2 separate regions of the Homo sapiens genome follow, and region 2 is linked to region 1. Evidence: promoter capture Hi-C in human tissues and cell types (Jung and others, 2019). All regions are on one chromosome and are shown on one strand. The core of a region is centred on a gene start or on the middle of the fragment in contact, and the rest is flanking DNA. Distances in the headings are between cores, read along the strand shown. Region 1 holds the start of MARS2 (methionyl-tRNA synthetase 2, mitochondrial). Region 2 overlaps ANKRD44 (ankyrin repeat domain 44).

Region 1 (4,290 bases), core at 616-3,115:
GATAACACATTTGCTTTTTTACCACAAGCCGGTAAGAACTGAGTTTCTAGGTCCGGTGGGCTTTCACCAGCCAAGTCCTGGACTGGTCTAGTCTTGGAAACAAAAGCCCAGTTTCAGGTCCCAGCCTCCTCCCTTCAAAAGGGCATGGATGTCCATAGAATCGAGGCAAGAAATAGAGCTCTCCAAGACTCCTCTCTGAGGCAGAGACCCCCAGCCTAGACAGCAGCTTGTCAGCTAGGCTTGGGGTGACAGGCTGCAGCAAAGTCCCAAAGACTCGCAAACATTCCAAGGCCACATGAAGCACAGTACCCAGCCAGGGAGCATCCACTGGGCTCTCCCAGTTCAGCTTCCATGGTGCATGCCTTTGGACAAAACCATTAGTTTGCCGGACACAGCTGGACACGGCCTCCAGAGCCTTATATATCCGAAAGTTATCATAGTGGTCTGCTACCTGCTTTGGCAAAGTGGCCACTGCGCTCACCAGAGCATAATCCTCTGCCTGAGCACGAACTGACGGCCCCACCAACCCTGGCTCACTAGGGAAGCAGGTAGTGCAGAAGGCTGGGTAGGTCTCAGAAGGATTTATTCTTTTGGCAGTGCATCGGTTCAAGAGACCTCCCAAGGCATCTGCCAGCTCGGAGTTCAGCAACTTAACCACCTTTTCATCATAGTAGTCACAGTCCCAGTTGGGGACGCCCTGCCGAAGGAGAAAGTAGCGGAAGCCATCCACGGTATAGCGGTTAAGGCAAGTCCTAGGATCCACCACGTTGCCCAAGCTCTTGGACATCTTTTGGCCACAGACTGTCCAGTGGGAATGGACACAGATGCGCTGTGGCGGGCTCATGCCGGCCCCTAACAGGAAGGCAGGCCAATAGATGGCATGGAATTTGAGAATGTCCTTACCTATGATATGAGAGGTGGCCGGCCACCAAGATTTGAACTCAGCATTTGGGTAGCCAATTACAGTGAGGTAGTTGACCAGGGCATCCAGCCATACATAGATGGTCTGCGAATCATCCCCGGGCACCGGAATGCCCCAGTGCAAGTGGCTACTTCTGCGAGACACGGACAGGTCGGGCAGCTCCTCGTCCAGCCACTGAAGAACTACGTGATGAAATGGTTCGGGGGTGATCGCCTGAGGGTTGCCCCGCAGCCACCGCTGGAGTGGCTTCCGGAACTGGGAAAGCCTGAAAATGTAGTTTTCTTCCTTGGTCCAGGAGACTGGATGCCCGCTCTCGAGAGATACAGGAAACGAATCCCCCGATGGGCCCGGCTGCTGGGTGACCTTGGCCTCAGGCAGGAAGCACTCGTCGGAAGCGCAATACCAACCTTCATAGACGCCCTTGTAGAGCAGACCGCGGGACTTAAGCACCCCCCAGAAGTGCTGCACAGCCACCCGGTGCCGGGCCTCCGTGGTGCGGATGAAATCTGTGCAGGAGATACCGGCCTCCTGGAAAAGCTGCTGGAACTGCTCAGAGACTCGGTCGCACAGCTCGGTCGGGGCCAGGCCCGCGGTAGCTGCTGCCTGCTGAATCTTCAGCCCGTGCTCGTCGGTACCAGTGGAGAATCGCGTGGCGGCCGTGCTGGGACCTCGGAGGCGACGGTGGCGGCATAGGGCGTCCGCCAGTAGTGCCGAGTACAGGTGCCCGATGTGCGGCGCCGCGTTCACGTAGAAAATGGGTGTAGTGAAGTAGGCGCGCACATCACAAGCATCATCGCCGGCACTGAGGGAGCCCGAACTGTAGTAGCGTGGGCCGAAGTCCTCCAGGAGAGACAGCCTACTAGCCCCCGTGCGTCCTAGCAGGCGGAGGACGGACGTTCGCAGCATGGTGCAGACCGGCCGCAAGCGGAGGAGGCGGCGTTCTGACAGCACGTGTGAGAGGCGCATGCGCAGCCGGGTCGCGCCGCAGCTTCCGGCCGGAAAGCCAATGAAACGCGGCCCCGAGCGCCGGCCCTCACCGCCCTCCCCGCCCGGCCCCGCCCCGCCCGCGCCTGCGCCGTCCGCACGCCGAAAGCCGCGGCGCCAGAGGCCGCCAATGGACGGCGGCTTGCCAGAAAAACAGCTCAGAGTTGCCGGGTTTAGGAGAGGCTATGAAAGAAGACGAACCTCTTTGCCTTCGTATAACATACTGTGTTTCCTGCTTTGGATTGTAATTTTATATTTATGAATCTGTTTCCCCCTCTAGGCTGAGCTGCTTGTAGGCAAGAGTTTTATATTCAGCCGTTTGTCTAAACCCCGTCCGTGGCTGGCATACTGCAAGACAGAGTATTGCTCTGCACATGCCCTGTCGATATCTAAAATGTCACCTAAATTTTATCTCAGAGCCTAAATCAATCTGTAAGGGAGGGAGAGAGAAAAAAGATGAAAAATCATTACCTACAGCATTTTGAGAGAAGGATAAGAACTGAGAATGGAAGAGAAGTCTTTAAACAGTTTTTGTTGAATCAACAAAAGTAGATTTGTGATCTGCCAAGTTCTTGCCAAAGTTTATTGAGATCCAGGAAAGTAGAGTGCAATATGCTGTCACTGTGCATATAAAGAATAATTTTCAAATTTATTTCTCAAAAAGTTAATTTTTTTAATGGTCTTGAAGTTCTTTTAAAATAGTGTTTCTCAAGTTTGCTTTTAGTAATGGAACCTTAGAATTTTTTTTAGGGGAGGAAACCTCAGGAGCCCAGAATTGAATTAATGTTAATCCCTAGTTCATAACACACTCTCATCTTTGATCTTTTTTTTTTAATTTAATTTAAGTAGCATATACATTTAATAATAAAATGGAGCAGCTATGAACCTACAACCCAATCTAAGAACTACAAGTGGTTTCAGAGTGTGGTCCCCAGAGCAGCAGAACTGGCAGCACCTGGAACTTCGTTCGATATGTATATTCTTAGGCCCCATCCCCCACATACTGAACCAGAAAACTCTGAGGGTAGGGCCCAGTAATTTAGATTTTAAGGTGATTCTGATGCACATTAAAGTTTGAGAAACACTGAACTAGAAAATTACCAGTGATTTAGATCTGTGTGCTCCTTTTCTTCTCGTACTGTCCTCCCTGAGGTAGTCATTGTCCTGAATTTTGTTCTTGCACATTTGTGTGATCACATACAAAGTATGTCTAAGTAACATTGTTTAATTTTGCTTGCATTTAAATATTCTAAAAAGGATATAATACTACATGTAGTCTTCAACTTGCCTTTTTATTCAACATTTTGTTGCTATATTAATCCATGTTGTTGCATGTAACTGCATTCATATGTTCTTAATACATGTTGCATGTAATTCATTCATTTTGACTGCTGTATAATAACCTTTGACTGAACACATATGGTAACTTGGATCTGATTTCTCTAGTGATATGATGAAAGGTGGACCAATCGAATTCTGTATAAGAGATATAAAAAATAACTTTGGATACTCAGTTGATGTGCTCTTATTTAATCCAGCAGTTTAAGAATGACCTACAACCATCTGGTCTTCAACAAAGTTGATAAAAACAAGCAATGGGCAAAAGACTCCCTATTCAATAAATGGTGCTTGGATAACTAGCTAGCCATATACAGATGAAACAGGACCCCCTTCCTATACCATATACAAAACTCAACTCAAAATGGATTAAAGACTTAAATGTAAAACCTAAAACTAAAAACCTTAGAAGGTAACCTGGGAAATACCATTCTGGACATAGGACCTGACAAAGATTTCATCATGAGGATGCCAAAAGCAATTGCAACAAAAACAAAAATTGACAAATGGGACCTAATTAAAGAGTTTCCGCACCACAAAATAAACTATCAACAGAGTAAGCAGACAATCTACAGAATGGGAGAAAATATTTTCAAACTATGAATCCAAGAAAGGTCTAATATCCAGAATCTATAAGGAATTTTAAAAATCAATAAGCAAAAAACCTCATTAAAAAGGCAAAGGACATAAACAGACACTTCTCAAAAGAAGATAGACATGCGGCCAACAAGCATATAAAAAATGCTTAACATCACTCGTCATTACAGAAATGCAAATCAAAACCACATTTAGATACCATCTCACACCAGTCAGAATGAATATTATTAAAAAGTCAAAAAACAACAGATGCTGGCAAGGTTGCAGAGAAAAGCAACACATACACTGCTGGTGGGAATGTAAATTACTTCAGCCATTATAGAAAGCAGTTTGGTGATTTCTCAAAGAACACAAAGCATAATTATGATTTGACTTAGCAATCTCATTATTGAGTATATATCCAAAGGAATATAAATCATTCTACTGTAAAAAAAAAACGCACTCCCATG
Region 2 (4,290 bases), core at 901-3,400, 520 kb after region 1:
TTTCTCAATTTTGACCCTTGTTACAATTTTGTATTTATTCAACTCTGTACCCTACTGTACACAAAGCACTCGTGTTATATATGCTAGTGCTAAAATGTGTGAAACTTTAAAAAGAAATATCTGTATATGCCAAGGCTTGGGACTCTGCTCTTGTGCAGGTAGGACTTTGCTTCTAAGCCTTATTTAAGTTAAGACAAAAGCTGCAAAAGTTATGATGGTTGCCAAATTAATGAACAACAGAATATATGTCCTTAATACTTATGAGCAAGAATATTGTAATTAGAATATTCTTTGCCTTAAACATCATATAATATAGTATTTAGATATATCTTTTCCCCAATATTTTTTCTTAGGTTAAGTGTTTACCTGGGGAAAAATAAAACAGCAGGATCTCATTAAAATTCCAACAAAAAGGAGTGCCAAAGTGCTCTCTGGGAATGTTTTTGGGAGTGTGGAGAGAAAAAAAGAAGAAGCAGTCATAATATTTAAAAAATAAATATTACTTGCTCAAGAATCATTATGCATTCCATTCAGTAATTATATCCATACAAACACACAGCTTCAGTTGAAGCAAAGCACGTTATCTGTGAAGTTCTAGTTTGAAATCCCATGATGCTTAAATTCATAATTGTGAAGGCGATGTCTCAGTAGCCACATGGCACAGTTGAGCTAGAGATGTCCATATAGCAAGGCTTTGGGATGTGGAGAACAGCTGCTTTTTTATTCCACGGGAAGTAGAAGGGGTTTGTGTATGACTCAACATGTGTCTCTATGCATGCATGCCTGAGTGTAGATAGGTATGCATATGTACCTAGGTGCATATGTATGCATATATGTGACTTCAGTATTGGAAGAGTTATAATGATAGCTCAGCCTCTTCTTCCTAATGGCTCCTGGGGATTCTGTGCCTTGACAATTCTCTATAAAGTAGCTTTTAGCAGCATTAGTCCCAGAGGCACCACTCCCTGCTGAGGACTGTGCTGGCGCCCTTCTCTGGAAGCTTTTTTGGGATGCCTCTCCTTGGTAACATTCCAGCCATAGCTTGGAATGCTTGCCTTTCTTCAGAAGTGTGAGGACGGAGTGAATGCAACAGAATGTATGTATTCCGTACACTCGCAACTGGGAGACTCTGCTCACCTCATTATGTTCCCTTAAAGTGACTAAGTAGTGGTGCATTAACTACTGTGTTGGGTTTGTTCCCCGGAATCTTAACTGTTCAGCTGTTGATTGACTACTCCTGATTTAACATGAAAATCTTGTCAGACACTGCCTCTACTTATCGTTCTCTGGTTGTGGAGGTTTGTTGCTTGTTTTCTTTTAAGGTCCAAAAAGGCAGAAATGCACACATGAGCATTTGGCCATGAGCACAGCAGATGGAGAATTATGGAGCAGATAAACAAGATTCAATATTTTTTTTTGTCGAAACCCTGAATTTGTGTCTGGCTCTGTGTCTTGTGTGAAATGTGGTCCTTGCCACGGGGCAGATGTAACCCGAACGGAGACTTGGTTAGCAGGTAGTTAGGGGGAGTGTGGAAGGATCTGCCTGTCTTTAAGCAGAGTAAGTAGCTAAGACTGAACTAGCAGTAAACTTGTATTCTTTTCAAGACTTCTTTCCTGCTACTTAATTGTTGGCAATTTCAGAAACTATCCATACACCTTGTCAAGAAGCAGAATTGAGAGGGTGTTTTCGAGAAAGAAAAAGAGATATATGTTCATTTGCTGGGAATTTTTATGGCAGAGGAGAAACCCATGGACAAATTCCTGGCATATTGAAATATCCATTCTGCACCTTGACATTTTTACATAGTGTTTCCTCAAGGAATCTTACTCTGTCTTACTGATAGTACTTATATTGGTCCCCCAAACTAGCAATAAACAGCAACATAACCTGTAAGAAAGCCAACAGGAGGATAAAAAGAGAAAAGAGGGTTTATAGGGAAAATGACAACTCACATTCCCAACAGCAGATCACAGGGTGAGGTCAAGGTATGTGACACTAGTGATTTCACCTGAGGCCAGTGCTTGCCACCAGTTCCTAAGAATTGATAGGTACTTGTTAAAATCTAGATTTGCAGGTCCCCACCCTGAATGTATTATATCCTTAGGAAAGGGATCTGGGACTATTTTTTTTAATAGGCATCTCCGGTGATTCTTATGGTCAGACACATTGGGGAAACTGCTGTCATCTAATCGACTACTAGGACTAAGATATTTCTAGAATTTTGGGTGAATGTGTGTGTGTGCATAATTACCAAGGATCTTAAGGTTAAAAGAAAATTATCAACTACTCCATCTTGTCATCGTGAAACATTTCTTAATGAAAACATCTATGTAGGGTTGTCTGGTTAGAGGACATTTTCTCATGTACTACCTCATTTGATCCTAATAACAATCCCATGAGGAGGTTAGGCAGCGATGATCATGCTCACCCCCAAGTTGCATGTAGAAATGGGCTTTGCATGTGGCTAGCAAGTGTGAGACTGGCTTTGAATAGCATTTTTTGCCATGCAGGCAAGCCCAACATCAACCCTAAAGCCTGCCACTGTTCCTCTTTTACCCCACACTCTGGTCAGTAACATATCAGGTTCTTTGCACATCCACACCTTTGCACACCTGTACCTCCTCTGTCTTCCTTCCCTGTCAGCAAATCATATTTATTCATTAAGGTGCCTTCCTTAAGCTTTTTTGGATACACCCTTGTCTTCACCCAGCCTCCTACCCAAGTGGAGCTAGCTGTTCTTTTGGTTGTGTTTCCATCACACTATATAGATCCTTCTACTGCATGCTGGGGTCTTGTTTAATGTAGATGAGTTCAATAATAAGAGCTTGGTAACACCCCCCTCTTCTTCCCTAAACTGCCATCGTGCCACTTACTTTTAATAAGCAGTAGATGTAATCATGTTTAAGACAGTACTTGTTGGCTAAAGCTATGGGAGGCATTTGGGAATGATTTCAAGGGTTTTCCAAATACCGACACAAAAGTGTTCCGGTGGCCAGAAACATGGCCATTAGCATCCTCTAGGAATGGAATTATTTGAGGATAACAAGGAACATTGTCTAACAAGAAGTAGAGGAATCATAGGGAACTGTCTTAGTTTGCTCAGGCTGCCATAACAAAATACTATAGACTGGATGGCTTAAGCAACAGAAATTTTTGTTCTCCCAGTTCTGGAGGTTGGAAGTCCAAAATCAGGGTTAGTTTCTGGTGAGGCCTCTCTTCCTGGCTTACCAACGGCCACGTTTTCACTGTGTCTTCACATGGCCTTTCCTCCTGTGTGAGAGAGAAGAAAGAGAGAGAGGGAGAAGAAGAGGGAGAGAGAGAGAGAGAGAGAGAGAGAGAGAGAGAATGAGAACGTGAGCTCTGGTGTCTCTTCCTCTTCTTATGAAGACACCGGTCCTATTGGATCAGGGCCACACCCTTACGACCTCTTTTAATCTGAATTATCTCCTTAAAGGCCCTGTCTCCAAATACAGTCGCTTTGGGGGTTAGGGCTTGCAACATATCAATGTTGGTGGGGATACAATTCAATTCATAACAGGGATTGTATGCACAAAACCACAGATTTAGTAGTTTCCTTGTCAGGGATTTAAGGGCCTATCAAAGTTTCAGTGATGGGTGGTGTTCATGGTACATTCACTGTAGTTCATAGTTCAGGTTAGAGACTATCTGGCCTGGCTTTCAGATTGTATAATAGTTATTTCTTTATGTAAATATCTCCCCCACTGGACTTCTTGTAAGGGTTGGTCTGAGTCTTATTCATCTTTGTCTGCCAACTGATAATGGTTCAATAAACTTTTAAGGAACAAATCTTCTCACCATCTGCATCTGTATGTGATCAGATGTATTAATTTTAGTTCTGATTCCCATTCTCTTGTGTTTGCAGCCACCATTGGTTCAGGCAATCTTCAGCGGTGATCCAGAGGAGATCCGGATGCTCATCCATAAAACTGAAGATGTGAATACTCTGGTAAGAGATACTGTGGTTTTGCTACTCAGGCCCTGTTAGCCTGGAGCAGGAAAGGACTCTTAACCTTTTATATACCATGGACTCTTGATATCTGGTGAAAGCTCCAGACTGTTTCTCAGGACACTGTTCTTAAACCCTATATAAGAAATAAAATATCTAGGGTTACAATGGAAATCAGTTATTGAGATACAGTTACCCAAATATTAAAAATATACTTTGTAATATGGTAATATATGTGCTTTTAAAAAAAATAACACATTTAGGCTGGGCGCAGTGGTTCATGCCTATAATCCCAGAATTTTGGGAGGCTGAGTTGGGCAGA

What was found. Contacts are between HindIII fragments. The study calls those that stand out against the background at their distance.
Region 2: a contact is called between a fragment that was not itself captured here and the fragment with the promoter of MARS2 in region 1, in 1 of the 25 tissues and cell types used here (hippocampus).

Annotation. Positions count from the first base shown.
Region 1 is chr2:197,702,944-197,707,233 of GRCh38, reverse strand. MARS2 (methionyl-tRNA synthetase 2, mitochondrial) reads right to left here and starts at 1,865. Exons shown (of 1, transcript NM_138395.4): 1 at 1-1,865. The coding sequence starts at 1,828. The coding sequence ends at 47. RefSeq lists enhancers at 1,462-1,581, 1,622-1,671 and a silencer at 1,812-2,051. The HindIII fragment of the contact is 12,008 bases long and covers 1-4,290 here.
Region 2 is chr2:197,186,701-197,190,990 of GRCh38, reverse strand. ANKRD44 (ankyrin repeat domain 44) reads left to right here. Exons shown (of 28, transcript NM_001195144.2): 2 at 3,885-3,968. Among named protein-coding and RNA genes, the nearest start is that of ANKRD44-AS1, 9.1 kb to the left of the region's middle. RefSeq lists an enhancer at 3,252-4,290. The HindIII fragment of the contact is 4,059 bases long and covers 121-4,179 here.